Regions from separate parts of the Homo sapiens genome. Here regions 1, 3, 4 and 5 are each linked to region 2. Evidence: promoter capture Hi-C in 16 types of primary human blood cells and fetal thymus (Javierre and others, 2016). All regions are on one chromosome and are shown on one strand. Each heading gives the region's core, a stretch centred on a gene start or on the middle of the fragment in contact. The rest is flanking DNA. Distances are from core to core; before and after follow the strand shown. Region 1 overlaps LOC728743 (zinc finger domain-containing protein LOC728743). Region 2 holds the start of GIMAP1 (GTPase, IMAP family member 1). Region 3 overlaps REPIN1-AS1 (REPIN1 antisense RNA 1). Region 4 overlaps LOC107986858 (a long non-coding RNA gene). Region 5 has its middle 4.1 kb from the start of LINC00996.

The links. Contacts are between HindIII fragments. The CHiCAGO score rates a contact against its expected background, and 5 or more counts as called.
Region 1: a contact is called between a fragment that was not itself captured here and the fragment with the promoter of GIMAP1 in region 2, in 9 of 17 cell types (total CD8 T cells, non-activated CD4 T cells, total CD4 T cells and 6 more). The highest score is 11.6, in total CD8 T cells.
Region 3: a fragment that was not itself captured here is called in contact with the fragment with the promoter of GIMAP1 in region 2 in 9 of 17 cell types (non-activated CD4 T cells, activated CD4 T cells, naive CD8 T cells and 6 more); the score reaches 10.8 in non-activated CD4 T cells.
Region 4: a contact is called between a fragment that was not itself captured here and the fragment with the promoter of GIMAP1 in region 2, in 2 of 17 cell types (naive CD8 T cells and naive CD4 T cells). The highest score is 6.4, in naive CD8 T cells.
Region 5: a fragment that was not itself captured here is called in contact with the fragment with the promoter of GIMAP1 in region 2 in 14 of 17 cell types (naive CD8 T cells, total CD8 T cells, neutrophils and 11 more); the score reaches 15.2 in naive CD8 T cells.

Annotation. Positions count from the first base shown.
Region 1 is chr7:150,406,870-150,409,732 of GRCh38, reverse strand. It overlaps LOC728743 (zinc finger domain-containing protein LOC728743), which reads right to left. Exons shown (of 3, transcript NM_001395976.1): 2 at 1,245-2,149. The coding sequence starts at 2,121. The coding sequence ends at 1,510. Among named protein-coding and RNA genes, the nearest start is that of ZNF775-AS1, 24 kb to the right of the region's middle. RefSeq lists an enhancer at 2,735-2,784. The HindIII fragment of the contact is 2,546 bases long and covers 217-2,762 here.
Region 2 is chr7:150,715,157-150,718,115 of GRCh38, reverse strand. It overlaps GIMAP1 (GTPase, IMAP family member 1), which reads right to left and starts at 1,503. Exons shown (of 3, transcript NM_130759.4): 1 at 1,426-1,503. GIMAP1-GIMAP5 (GIMAP1-GIMAP5 readthrough) reads right to left here and starts at 1,503. Exons shown (of 5, transcript NM_001303630.2): 1 at 1,426-1,503. The HindIII fragment of the contact is 9,233 bases long and covers 880-2,959 here.
Region 3 is chr7:150,363,546-150,366,380 of GRCh38, reverse strand. It overlaps REPIN1-AS1 (REPIN1 antisense RNA 1), which reads left to right. Exons shown (of 4, transcript NR_183429.1): 4 at 2,204-2,835. Among named protein-coding and RNA genes, the nearest start is that of REPIN1, 3.9 kb to the left of the region's middle. RefSeq lists a silencer at 2,201-2,250. The HindIII fragment of the contact is 1,944 bases long and covers 434-2,377 here.
Region 4 is chr7:150,343,464-150,346,529 of GRCh38, reverse strand. It overlaps LOC107986858 (a long non-coding RNA gene), which reads right to left. Exons shown (of 3, transcript XR_001745420.3): 2 at 2,889-3,002. Among named protein-coding and RNA genes, the nearest start is that of RARRES2, 3.4 kb to the right of the region's middle. The HindIII fragment of the contact is 2,219 bases long and covers 251-2,469 here.
Region 5 is chr7:150,428,115-150,430,999 of GRCh38, reverse strand. No RefSeq gene overlaps it. Among named protein-coding and RNA genes, the nearest start is that of LINC00996, 4.1 kb to the left of the region's middle. RefSeq lists an enhancer at 2,005-2,174. The HindIII fragment of the contact is 4,508 bases long and covers 1-2,885 here.

The DNA.
Region 1 (2,863 bases), core at 240-2,739, 310 kb after region 2:
CCCAAACCACTCCCAGGGATGCCATGTCCCCTTCAAACACCCGTACCACCCCTAACACCCCTGCCCCAGCTCCTATCACATGGCCCCAAATCCTCCCTGCTCCATCGTCCACTTTTTAAGCAGTGAAGCTAAAAGGTTCTGGGATTCAGAATCCAAAACAAAGCCCTGGCTTCCACCTGTTGTACCCCTAAGTACCAACTGTGGTGTAGGCAAGCTTGGCAAACCTGTTTCCTCATCTGCCAAAAGGCTGAAGAGGCCCGTGCCTCAGAGCGCCAGCTTGGAACCAGAGGTCCTGGAGCAGAGTCCTGGCTGCCCCCTTTCTCACTGCCAGACCTTGGCCAGGCCTCTTAGCTGGGGGCCTTATGTTCTCTTGCCCAGATGACCCAAGCCCCTCGAGGCTCCAGCTCTTCCCACATCAGTCTGTCCTCACAGTGCCTCTGATTCTCCTCCTAAAGCATAAGTCTGAGATCATAGCACTCATCTCATTAAAAATCTCAGTGTCCCCACCCCCTGACCACGAAGTCCTTTGTAGGGCAAACCTCCCCTTGGGACACCTGGAGACAGTCACTGAACTATCAGGACCCCCCCTCCCTTGAAAACACCCTTCTACACACTTGCTCTTCCTAGAACAATTTTATTTGTCCCCATGACCTGGTTCAAAGCCATCAAACTCCCCTGGGTGACGAAGAGAAACCAGTCACCCTCCTCGGTCTCACCCCAGAGCACTTTGTAGGTTGGCCCCGCGTCACACACCGAGTGTGAGCACCCCGTGTCAGGGCCTGCGGTCCTCATGTGTGTCTCTGGGAGAGCCCAGCCCGGCACAGTCAGTGGCACATGGTGTGGCAGAATCAACTAAGGCTCTGTGCACCAGTGACCTCACCCTCTCTCATCCAGTAGCTGCAATATATCCCAGCGAGGAAGAGTCCCTCATCTATATCCCCAACTTACAGATGAGTAAACTGAAACATGAAGTGAAATGACATCTCAAGGACAGCAGAGAGTGTGTACAGGAGCCAGGAGGCCTAGGGGCTGAGGTTGGGCGTGGGGTTTGTGGAAAGTGGCCTCTCCAAGTCTCTTTCAACTCTGACATTCTGGGGATGAAGATCCGGTAAGCAGCTCATCACAGAGAAACCTACAGCCCGGTACCCAGACCGCCCCACCTGCCATCAAGAATCAACACCACGCACTCCACCCCCACCACTCCCAGCCCTGAGAGGGGCTCTGGCCAGCCCCGCAGGTCTCACCTGCTCTAGGCCGGATGGGCCAGAGAAGGAGAACCATGGCAGGAGCCGGAAGCAGCTGTGCGCAGCCAGCCAGAGGGTCCCGAGGGAGGAACGCGAGCGGGCGGCCGGAGCCTGGCGGCGGCCCACACCTTCAAGAGCCCAAGCCAGCGCTGCCCCTCTCCCGGGATCCCATCTAGAGAGGGAGCTGCGGCCCAGGGCCATCTCCAGGGGTCGGGGACGCACGTGCGGGGCGGGAAGCAGCCGTCGGCAGCAGGCCCCGGGCGCATCATAGCACGCGTCCTAAGTGGGCCGCCTGGCCCTCGGGCCCGTGGCCGTGGCTGCGCTGATGGGTCTTGAGCGAGCCCTCGCGCGCGAAGCTCTTGCCGCAGCGGGGGCAGAAGTAGGGCCGCCGCTCCCCGAAGACGCCGGGGCGGCGCGGGTGCGGCGCGGGCATGCGCGCGTGGGTGCGCTGGTGGTTGAGCAGGAAGCGCGGCTCGCGGAAGCAGCGGCCGCACTGCGCGCACTGGTGCGGCTTCTCGCCGCTGTGGATGCGCTGGTGCGTGAGCAGGTTCTGCTTGAGGCTGAAGCAGCGGCCGCACTCGGGGCAGGGGAAGGGCCGCTCCCCGGTGTGCGTGCGCTGGTGCACCTCGAGGTTGTGCTTGACGCTGAAGGCCTTGCCGCACTCGGGACACACGAAGGCAGCCGCGCGGCCCGCTCCGGCGTGCGCCTTCTGGTGCCGCACCAGGCTGGGCTGCTGCGAGAAGGTCTGGCCGCACAGCGGGCAGCGGTAGGGCTGCTCCTCTGCAGGGTGGTGGATGACCAGGCCTCGCTCGTCCCCCAGACCCTCCTCCCCGTCCCCCGCAGGGGACCCGCCCCCGGAGGACGCCAGCTCGGTCATGGGCACTTCCAGCTGCAATCACCAGTCCCTAGGGAGACAGAAGCGGGGGCGGGGGTGGGGGGTGGAGAGAGAGGGGTCGGGGAACACGAGGGTTAGCCAACCCCCAGCCTGGCAGGGACACTCACCTCCCACAACCTCCACCTTTCGCCCCGTTTTGTTCAAGCTCAAGTTCCCCTGCTGGGAATTGGTGTTCCTCTTCCTCCACTGCCTTTTAAGCACGGCCTACACTCCTTCCAGTCCCTTCCCAAGGGCACCTTCTCCTAGAAGCCTTCCCTGACCTTTCCACCCCGGGCTTAAACACCGTGTGACACAACCATGTGGCTCTCACTGATCATACTGCACGAGGGTCAGTCATGCCACCTCTGTCCCCCGACTCCCAGCACCCTAAGGACAGAGCTGCCTTCTTTCAACCCCAGCACCTAGCACCATGCCAGCCAGCCACACAAGACACTAGACAGATGGTGATGAGTTTCAGTTAGGATTTTCAGTTTCAGTTTCAGCTAGGATTTTCAGTTACCTTCGTCTAGATATGTCTTATCCCTCCAACCAGATCTCAAGGACAGGGGGAGGTAGGGAAGTGCACCCCAAACTTGGAGAAAAGGGTGGCATTATCAGTGATTTAAAGATATTTTTGTGAAGCTTAAAACAGGAAAAAAAACACAACCCTGTAAACTTGAAAGTGACCTCGGTTAAACATTAAAGGCGGCAGCTCTTTGTTTATCAAAATGAGGCATGTGTTCAA
Region 2 (2,959 bases), core at 254-2,753:
CAGATTTCAGGGCCTTTCCAACCCACTCGGCTTCCCCTCCTAGGACTATTGATCCTCCCCGACCATCTGTCTGTGCCTCACCATCCATGTCAAACTTGTTGTGTCTTGCACCCTGGTCACTTGGATACCTGTGTTCTCTCCCATTGGCACCACACATGAAGGAGGGGCAGAGAGAGAGGCTGGCTGAGTAACTTGTCTTTGATTGAAGGACTTGGAGAACAGATTTGCCTCATATTAAATCTAGAGCTGTTTCTGTTTCTGCAGGAACTCTACTGGCCCTCCCCAAAGCCTTCAATAAAATTCACTCCATGGGCCTTATGTGATTAATTATTTTGCATGTAGGAATGAACAGATGATCATAAATGACATCAAAGCAGAAATGAAGAAACAGTTGCAAGATTCAGAGAAAAGAATTTAGATGAAGCAAAATGTCCTTGTCAACCAAGAAAATGAGAATTTCTTTTTCCAGTGCTGCAGAATTCTGGATAGGCCTTTGGAATTTTCCATAGTTTAGAAGAGGGGTTGAAATGATTTTAAATAGTTTTTTTTTTTAAAGGAAAGTAAGACCCAGCTGAACTCTGAGGTGACAAATGGCCCTTAATCATTGAGGAATGTACACTTATAGAATCCTGTATTCCTAACACTTTAAGAGACCGCAAAGTTTATTGAGTTCTTCACCGCTCAAATGTGCTGCTTCTCAGAATTACTTGAATGTTCTTTAAAAATGTACATCTCTTGGATCCATCCTGAGATTCTGATTCATGAATTAAATGTTTCTGATGTCCACAGCTCAGAACTTGGACATCAGTCATTTTTGCAACCCCCTTTATTGTACAGATGGGAATTTGAGGTGTCCCCGTGGCTGGAGCAGGAGAAGCTTGAATTAAGGGAGCAGATGTTTAAGGGGCCATGCAGGGAAAGGGGTTGAAGACCAAGATATTAATCTCAGATGTCTCCTCAGGGGCCCCTTCTGTGGACAGTGAGGAGGAGAGTTCAAATGTACCCAGTCTTGTCACGTCGTAACTCACTCCGAGGTTAGATGGCTTATGGGGCCATAGAAATATCTTTTGCCTTTGCTCAATAGGGAGCTTGAGGAATGTTTAATGCCTTTCAAACTGTATTTTATTCCTGGAGGTGGTTCCAGCACACTCTTTTCTTACTTTGTTAAGGGAATGTGGGAGGAGACAGATTTCACTCCCCACCAAGAACGTGTGTGCTCCAGAGCTGGAGAAGATGATCCTAAAATTTCCTCTGAACTTTGCCTACTTAAAAACCTGGAAGTATGTCCTTGATTGTTCCAGATCTTGCTCGCCTGCATGATGCCTTGTAGAATGCAAGTGTTCAGGCAGTAAACACTCTAGGAATCATGTTCTTTCTGGTTCTCAGAGCACCCCCAGCCCCCGCCACTCCCAGGCTCAGGCTCACCTTTCCTGGTGACAGGCTCTGAAGTTGGCCACAAGAAGCCCCAACCTGCTGCTTTCCCTTCGGCTGTGAGTGCAGAAGGCTGTTTCCTCTCGGCACACGGAGGAAATCACTCAGACTTCAGAAATCAGGAAGCTCAGGGTGGGCCCCATGGTTATGGTTTAAAGAGACAGAAACATTTCCCATTGAGCTGTGGGTTGGCAATACTTCTCCTACCGACTCTACTTTCTGCTGTGACTGAGGTTATGTGTCTCCAGCAGGGCCTCATGATGTCAAATATCTTGCCATGCTCTAAGAAGGGAGGGATGTTGTAGTCTCTGAGGCCTGACTGTACTTCTAAAATTGATTACTGAGCTAATCTTCAGTTGCCTTTGCCCTATAGGGACATTTCCCCATATAAAATAGGCCCAGAGAGTCTCCTGCCCCGGAACAAATAACGTAATAGCTGTTCTCATCATCTGTCCATTAATTAGACATTCATGTGGCCAGTGCCAGCCCCAGATCCAGTCTGCCAGAAAAACCTGAAGGCAAAGTCTTATCATTCTCTGAGAGAGGAGGGCTTTCCCAGCTATTGAAGGACTTGAGGGTGAACTGGTATGTTGAGGATGAACACCTTCGCACTATCTTCAATTTAGCCTTATTAGGAGGCTTTAGTCTAGTCGTCTATGTTGGTATCACCAGTTCTAGTTATTCTATCTTCTCTCAAGAGCATCATGAGGTCAGCAAAAAAGCGAATCACTGGGTGGTAAGAAGGCTACAGAGGAGCAGGCTGCATATCTGGTTAGGTCATTAACCAGCTATAGGACCTCACCTAACTCATTTAAACTTTCTGGAGTTGGCTTTCTGGAGTATATGGGGAAGACAATAACCCGAGTCTTACCCTACTGGATAGGATCTGCTTTTTAACCTCTTTCATGCCAGACCACTTTTTTTCTGGTAGGGAAGAGACCCAGCTTTTACTGTTTCCCATCTTTTTGGGGGCACAGAGTCTCCTGGATATCTGACATGTCCACTGTTTCCATTCATCATTGCTGAAACAGGGAGCCTGTCATTCTCCCAGTAGACCGGCAGGGCTGGGGCTATTGTGAGGCAGGTGGGGCATCTAGAGCACACAGCTTAAGGAGGCACTCACTCTCAGGTCACCCAAGTGCAGATCTTGTAGGTGGGTGACCCTGGGAGTGAGTGTTTTCTTAAGAGTGAGGTGCCTAGGGCTTCTCACTAGCCTCATCCTAGCCCAAGCCACATAGATCAGCTTTGAATAAGTCTTTGATACTTGACGTGTACCTTTCATAAAGACGCTTTCAGAGCCTCTTCAACAGCTCCGGGCCATTTATTGTTTCCATGCATGTGTATGATGTCTTACTTCAGCCACTCATAACTCTCTGTCAGAGGGTTTATCTGACTACAAAAGTATATGTAGGTAATGCATGCAGCAGCCTGAAGTTGTCAGAGCTGATATCCTAGGAGCAGATTTCAATCAATGTCAGTTAGGACTTATGGATAAACACCACAACTTATCAAGTTGTCCACCACGTGA
Region 3 (2,835 bases), core at 156-2,655, 350 kb after region 2:
GAATCACTTCATTTATTCTTCCAAACTGACATGGAGCCGGCACCCCTCTTACAGGCCTGCAGGAAGTGGGGAGGGGGCAAGCATGGAAATAAAGGAAAATCTTGAATTCCTTCAAGGGAAATTCCAGGCACCCAGCTAGCAACCTAATAAACAAGAAGGTAACTGTAGCTTAAAACAAGGAAGTTACAGTCACAAAATGTTTGGTTCCCTATAGAAACTAAAGATAACATCTTAATATATGTCCCTGAGTTGCTCTTCAGAAACCTGGGCCCCCCTCCCAAGTGGATGCCCTGGCCTGCAGACCTCAGACAAGAGGGAACTGAGGACTAAGCTCTGCTGTTCTTTGTTCTAAATTTCTTCCTGAGGATCCTGATGGAAGTTGGACCAGACCTGAACATTCCTTTCTGCTAACCCCAAGGTTTTAGGCAAAGCTTTGCTTCCTTAACTTATCACAAATCAGAGTCTTTGAATTCATGTATGACCTTTAAGGCTCCTCCTTCAAAATACCCTGCCCTTTGAGGCTAAACCAGTGCATAACCTCCATGTATCAATTCACGATTTTGCCCATAACTTCTCCTTTCCTGAAATTTACCCCTGCTTTTAAAAACACTTGCTTGTGGCCGGGCCCAGTGGCTCATGCTTGTAATCCCAGCACTTTGGGAGGCCGAGGTGGGCGGATCACAAAGTCAGGAGTTCAAGACCAGCCTGGCCAACACAGTGAAACCTCGTCTCTACTAAAAATACAAAAATTAGCTGGACGTGGTGGCAGGAGCCTGTAATCCCAGCTACTCGGGAGGCTGAGGCAGGAGAATCACTTGAACCCAGGAGGCGGAGGTTGCAGTGAGCCAAGATCATGCCACTGTACTCAAGTCTGGGCGGCAGAGCTAGACTCCGACTGGGGGAAAAAAAAAACCTTGCTTGTAAACCATCGAAGAGGTTGTATCTTAAGTATGACCCACTTCTCCTCGCTTGGTGCCCTGCAAATAAATGTGCTCCTTTCTCCGGATGCACAACCTCAGTGTTGGTGTTTCCTCTTACTGCGCCGGGCAAGTAGACCCCAGTTCAGTTTTGTAACAAAATGAACTTTAGAATTTCTTGTCAATGTTTTAAAAACGTGATTGTCTTTAAGATTCATTCTCTCCACTCCATTCATTCAGGTCTTATTTTACCTGTCCCAGTCAAGTTGACTAATCTGTACATTAACTACTTAACTTTTATACTTTTTTTTTTTTTTTGAGACAGTGTCTAGCTCTGTCACCCAGGTTGGAGTGCAATGGTGCAATATCAGCTCAGTGCAACCTCCGCCTCCCAGGTTCAAGTGATTCTCCTGCCTCAGCCTCCCTAGTAGCTGGGATTACAGGCACGCACCACTACACCTGGCTAATTTTTGTATTTTTAGTAGAGATGGGGTTTTGCCATGTTAGCCAGGCTAGTCTTGAACTCCTGAACTCCTGACCTCAGGTGATCGGCCCACCTTGGCCTCCCAAAGTGCTGGGATTACAGGTGTGAGCTACCGCACCCAGCCCAACTTTTATACTTTATAAAATAAAATTCACAAATATGAAAAAAGTCTTTGTCATATCATATAGTTTGGGGGTTCTGAAAATATGGTTATAGCATATTGTGGAATATAGGCCAAGTTTAGTAGTTACGGAAGAATGAATTTTTCTACCAACAGTACAATAAGAAGATGCTCCAGTTTTTACCTAAATACTTAGTAATTTATTAGTTAACATTTTGGGAGGCTTTACTTTGTGTCAGGCATGGTGATAAACTCCTCACATACATATCTCATTTAATCCACTCAACAACCCTATGCAATACTCTTCTGGTCCTTATTTTACAAATGTAACAACCGAGACTCTGAAATGTTCAGGAACTTACTCAAGGCCACTCAGCGGGATAGTGGCTGATTTGAACCCAAGCAGTGCCCCTGTGTCCTCAATGTTAACCACTAAAGTTGCATGTGTGCTGGCCTGGGCACAGGGTAAGCGTGGGATCCCCCAGGGTTAACGAGTGAGTTTGGACATCTAATGCTTCTCCATTCCTAAAATTCCACTTGATCCCTACGTTCCTGCAAGAGCCTGCGAAGCAGAATTCCTTCATAGACTCACAAAGTATCTTCTCCTTGTCTGTAATCCGTCTTTCATAGCAGAAAGGTTCTTCATTAAACAAGGCCCTAACCTTCTTTCTCTCTCCCCAGCCTCCATTAGAGGAAATGTCTCTTCTCCCAGTCAGGAGTTAACCACCTGCTGTAACTTCCTCTTTAGCATCGCCAGAGGAAACTAAGTATGACTGTGCCTTCACTCTGCAGAAAGAAAATGAGTGGCAAAGGAGTTGCGAAGGGATTCCTGAGCCTTTATGCCAGCTGGAAGCTTAAGGCCTTGGTATTTGAGACTTCACCCTTCAAAATGTCTTGGAGGATGGCCCAGCAACCAGCCAAATGGCCCAATGGCCTAGCCCAGTGGAGACGGTCTCAGCTTTTGACAAGCTAGCCGGAGAAAGGGCTGGACAGGAAGGGGCCCACTGGACAGCGAATATTGATAGGGCCCCTGGGAGGATCAATTTTCCCCTCCAACAGTGCCTGGCTCCCATTATCAGATTAGATGCAAAGTGGGCTGGCATGCCAGGGGGTGACAGGAACAGTGTCTCCAGAAATCCTCTGTGAAGACACCCAAGTATTGTTCAGAAGTGGCCCTGTATCTGGAAGAGGGAAAACTGCACCCACTTCTTGCAGACATACAGTTCCAGCTCCCCCCACAGGACTTGCTCATACATCCAACAAATATTTAATCAGTGCCCACCATCTGCCACTGTGCCAGGTGCCCGGCCTCA
Region 4 (3,066 bases), core at 111-2,610, 370 kb after region 2:
AACCATGTCTACAGCTGTTCAAGCCAGAAACCTGGGATTCACCCCTCTCTGTTGACCTCGACCCCAACATCTTATCAATCACCAAACCCTGGTGCTTTAGTCCTGAGGTATTTCTGGACTTTGTTTTCCCATCTTCACTGCCTCCAGTTTTGTCCCTGCCACATTCGTCTCTCACCCGGACAATCACAATTATCTCCTGCTGAGATTTATTCCCTTTTATCCACTCTCCACACAGCAGCCAGAGTAAGCTTTCAGAAATGCTATTGGGACCAGGCGCGGTGGCTCACACCTGTAATCTCAGCAGTTTGGAAAGGTAAGGTAGGAGGATCACTTGAGCTCAGAAGTTCAAGACCAGCCTGGGCAACAAAACAAAACCTCCTCTCTCCTGAAAAAAAAAATAATAATAATAAAAACTAGCTGGGTGAGGTGGTCCTGTAGTTCTAGCTACTGGGAGGCTGAGGCAGGAAGATCAATAGAGCCTAGAACATGGAGGCTGCAGTGAGCTCTGATTATGCCATTGCACTCCAGCCTGGGCAACAGAATAAGACTTTGTCTCAAAAAAAGAGAAAAGAAAAGAAGACAAAAGAAAAGCTGTTGCTTTGCTTTCTGATTTTAAAAGTATTAAGGCCAAGCACAGTGGCTCAAGCCTGTAATTTCAGCACTTTGAGAGTCCAAGGTGGGTGGATTGCTGAACCTAGAAGTTTGAGATCAGCCTGGGCAATGTGACAAAATCCTGTCTCTAGAAAAAAATACAAAAATTAGCCTAGGATGATGGCATGCACCTGTGGTCCAAGCTACTTGGGAGGCTGAGGTGGGAGGATCGCTTGAGCACAGGAGGTTGAGGCTGCAGTGAGCCATGATTGAGCCACTGCTCTCCAGCTTGAACGACAGAGCAAGACCCTGTCTCAAAAAATAGTTTTTAAAGTTTTTTTATATTTTAATAGACAAATTATCCACAAGTTATAAAAATTTAAAAGTACAAAGGGAGTACAGTTTTCCTGCCTCTGTTTTCCCCAGCTGGACAGATCCTCTCCTCACAGGCAAACACTGTTATAAGTTTCTTGTTTTTCCCTTCTAGAAATATTCCATGCATTTACAAACACAAAAATTTGTTCATTTTTAGTTTTAGTTTTTACTCACATAATTGGTAACACATGCTCTGCCTGCAATATCCAATATGGTAGCCACCAGCCACAGGTTTAGGAACACTTGCCATGTGGCTGGTGTGACTGAGGTATTTATTGGAATGCTAAAACAAGAGATTGATGCTTCCAATGTTGCTTCATTTCACTTTAGGGTACATATTGAAGATATTTGTGCTCAGTTTTCTGAAATTTATTCTATGCAAGTCTCATGGCTACAGCCATTAAAACTAATTCCGTATTTAAGTGGAAATGCTATGAATCACTGCTGGTTTTATGGAACTGTTGAAAGCAATGAAAGATAATGAATTTAATGATCTTTTCTTTACCAAAGCTCATTGTCAGGGTTGTAGAAGAGTTCTCCTAAGATTTACTGTACTTTTAACTAACTCCAAGATTTTCTTGAGACAGAAGCCATGATTACCAAATATACAACAATAAGTATTATTATTATTTGTTTTGGGGACAAGGTTTTGCTCTGTGGCCAAGTCTGAGAGTGGTGGCTTGAGCCTATAATCCCAACACTTTGGGAGGCTGAGGTGGGAGGGTCATGTAGTGGCATGATCATAGCTCACTGCAACCTTGACTTCCCAGGCTCAAGTGATCGTCCCCCGCCAGCCTCCTGAGTAGCCAGGACTACAGACTTTTGCCACCACACTCAGCTAATTAAACTTTTTTTTTTTTGTAAAGATAGCCTCTCTCTATATTGCCCAGGCTGGTCTTGAACTCCTGGGTTCAGTGATCCACCCACCTTGGACTCCCAAAGTGCTAGGATTACAGGCATGAGTCACTACTCTCAACCCAAATATTCAATAATTAAAAATAAAAAAGTCAGTGTTTTCTCACCAATACCACACTACATATAAATGGGCTAAATTTGAATATCCAAGGAGATGAAACCTCATTTGTGACCTAGCCAGATAAATATAAGCATTTCAAATTAAATATTTTCATAATACTGACAAATAATTACAATCTACATACTTTTGTCACAAGAATCAACATACAGAGGTTTTAATTGTAATATACAGCATTGTGTAAATTGGCAAAATTTCAAGAAAAATGTGAAGAATTCTTAGTTGATATTGATAAATTTAGAATGGCTTTTGAATTTATGCAATATCATTTTTGAATTTATGCTAATGGTACCGAATTGACACAAGTTGGAAAATGTACTTAACTTCAATAGGTGTAGTTTTGCAACTGATATGCTCTTACTTCAAAGTCAAATCACTTCTTCTAAAAAAAACTATTTTTGTCAATGTGGTTGCAAATATTAAAGGACAATGTTTTTTGGTACTCAGTTCAGTTATTGGAAAACTAAGCTTGGAACAACTGGATACGTGAGTCTACTTTTTTAGCTGTCATGACCAGGAAGATCATTAACCATCATTAAATAGTGAAGTCCTGTTGTTGCTCCCCTGGACTGGGACATGTTACCTGGAGCTGAGCTCATGAATATGCCCTAAGTAGTCCTTTCACACATCCACACCTATGAGTGCTCTGCAGTAGGACTGTCCACCTCTTTGGGGTGCACCTCACATACCTACACCCAAAGTGAATTTTGTGTGGCCATTTAAGTATAGCCAGACTGGCTCCTTCCTCACCAACTCCCACCACCCTGCTCCCAACCTACCTCCCCACCTCAACTGCCTCACCTCCCCTGCAACAGACCTGATGCAACTTTCCCCCCAGCCCCCACCAAAGTCAGGATGAGTTTCCCGCTTTGCTCAGCTCAAGTCCTACCTTGTCCTGGAAGATTTCTCTCCTCACCCATCCTCAGGACGTCCCCCAGCATGGGTCTGTGGGGGCCAAAGGAAAACTTCCCCTTTGCCTTCTGAAGGTTTGCTGAAAAATCAACTGATGAAAGGCAGATTAATAGAATAAATTGATTCATTTATATTTTAGAGACAAGGTCTTGCTC
Region 5 (2,885 bases), core at 254-2,753, 290 kb after region 2:
CCGCACCACAGCCCAGCATATGGCCTGGCTTTTTCTCTTCATCTTCATCCTTGTATGTCTAAAGAGAAATGTTTGTGTGGGAGGAGATGACATTTGAGTTCGTTAATTCAAAACACTGGTGGTAAGATGACTTATTCCAGGAACTTCAGTTCTGGATTTCATCAAATAAACTCAGGGACTCAACAGAAGAAAGTGACCGTCTTGTGAGTCCACTGAGCTCTGTCTCCAGAACAGAACCCCAAGGAGTCGGACACAGGAGCAGCAAAGTGCAGGCTGCCCACTGCATCTGCACCAAGGGGAAGGCACGGTCTCTGCAGGCAGCTGCCTCGTACCCCAGCAGCTGCACGTTGCTGCCAGCGCCTGGGGACCGCTGCCTCAGATGGAGAAGCTGGAACTCAGATCCTAGACTATTCCCCTGGGGGAATGCGATGATGGTTTCCAAACTTCACAGGTGCAGGCACGGTTCAAACCTCTGCTTTGCCCTTCCTAACTGCCTGAACTTGAGCAAGTGACCTCCACCCCCAAGTACTTCAGGTTCCTGATCTATAGAAGGAAGATCGTAACGATAATGGTCTTGTGGAGTAGGATGAGGATTAAATAATCTCTCTCCAGTGGGGACTGTTTATTATCTCACACCCCATGTACCCCAGGGACAGAAAATGGGGTTAGGGGGCAGGGCGTGGTGGTGCACACCTGTGGTCCCAGCTGCTCTGGAGGCTGAAGCAGGAGGATCGCTTGAGCCCAGGAGGTCGAGGCTGCAGTGAGCCATGATTGCACCACTGCACTCCAGCCTGGGTGACCAAGGGAGACCCTGTCTCCAAAAAAATAATGCGGTTAGAGTTAGCATCTCCCTTGCTCCTTGGCTTTCAGGCCATACCTCTTCTCCCTTTTGAGAACTAGTCGGCCTCTTCGAGTGTTAGCTGCTGGTCTCTTCCCTTCGTGCTTTGGGGTATGGGCGTCCAGCTCAGTCCCCCCGCCGTCCCCAGGCTTTGTCCCAGGACATGCCGGGTGTATTTGTTCTCCATTGCTGCATAATAAACCACCACAAAAAGTGGCTTGAACAACACAGACTTACTCTCTTAGCGTTCTGGAAGTCCAGAGTCTGAAATGAACCTACAGGGCTAAAATCAAGGTGTCCACAGGGCAGGTTCCTTCTGGAGGCTCCAAGGGAGAATCTCACTGTTCCATGTCTCCTTCAGCATGAGACAGAGAGAGAAAGAGGGAGAGGTGGGGGGTTGGTGAGGTAGAAGGTGCCACACACTTTTAAATGACCAGATCTCATGTGAACTCAGAGCAAGAGCTCACTCATCACCAGGAGGATGGCCCAAGCCATTCATGAGAGATCTGCCCCCATGGCCCAAACACCTCCCACCAGGCACTTCTAACACTGCAGATTACATTTCATTCAACATGAGATTTGGGCAGGGACAAATATCCAAACTATATCAGCTATTAAAGTCCCCAAACCTTCCCTTTAGCTTCCAGTTGCTTTCCTTTGGCTTCTGGGGCAGCCTGCAGAGGGCAAGTGCCTTCGCTCTGAGAGCAGCTGAGTAAGGACACTGCCTTCTCTGACTATATTGAGTACCAGCCCCCCATTCACCAGGCATCCGACTCTCTGCCTCCAAACAATTGCTTTATGCAGGTCCAGGGGCTGGGCCTGGCTATTCTATGCCATCCTTGGGAGTCCTTCCCATCGTCAAGGATTTTCTGAAAGGTCAAGCCTGGCTGCACTGGAGAAGGGAATGTGGAAGCCACAGCCCCTCGTAGCCGGCAGCCTGGGCAGCAACTGGAGGAGGTGGAGCATTTTCCTCTCCCTGTGGGGCTGAGGAATGTGCAGAAAATGGGTCTGCGGGTTCTTTCCAGGTTGCTCAGGAAGGGGTCTAGGGATGTATCTGAGGGGACAAGGGTTTGGGTAGGGACCCAGGCCAGGACTCCAAAGCCCCAGTGCCTTGGCCCTGAGAGCTTGCCTGCCAGTGATTTCTACCTTGGCTGGAATGCACTTTGCCATTTCCTCTGTAGACACTTCCTTGGGCAGATGCGGCCATCTGGTCTACTCCACAGGAGGTGGGAGTGACAGCAGCAAATAAAGAAGACAGGAAGAAGGCGGCCAAGGGCTGCGTGAGTGAACACAAACAGCAGGAGGGCACTTTGCCCAGTGTGGCTTCTGAATCATGCCTCTGAAAGTCCCTGTGTGTGCACACAGCTGTGGGCAGTGCTTACGTTTCTGTGCATGTGTCTGTGGAGAGTGTGGTTGGGGGTCGGAGGGGGTACCTGTGAATTCCTTAGAGAATCCTAGAGGGTGGGACTCTACGGGACCTGCAAGCAAGTCCAGTGGGTTCCAAATGTTTTCTGCAGGTTCTAGTGGGGGCCCCCGGACACCTAAGGGGTGGGCCCAGCAGACAAGGTTGCTGGGGAGAGGGAGACCCATCCCATGCTGTAGCTGGAACACTCCTGGGGTGATCCATGGGTCTTCCTAGTGATATTTTGAAAAAATAAGATTTTACTTTCATTAAAAAAAAAACAAATCTTTGGAAGTAGTGACTTCCCATCTAACCTCCTCATTCTTCAGTGAAGAAACTGTAGCCCCCAGAAAGGAAGTGACTTCCCCAAGGTCGTGAAGGAACCAGCTGGGGGAGAGTCTCAGGCCTCCTGACTCCAAAGTGGGTGCCATCCACAGTTTATCTTGCATCTCTCGGCCTGCAGGGCTGTGGAGGTACAGGCGGCTGGAGGGTGCACTCTGCCCAGCCTCACCCCGGTGAGGACCAAGTGTCCCGGTTCTGAGGAACACAAGGCAAGGCCTCCCTCTTCTAAAGTCTCTTCTTGTTTCCTGACCTGCCGCACTAGTCAGGCCTCTGGTGAAAGGCGTTTGAGGCCCTCAGCACCCT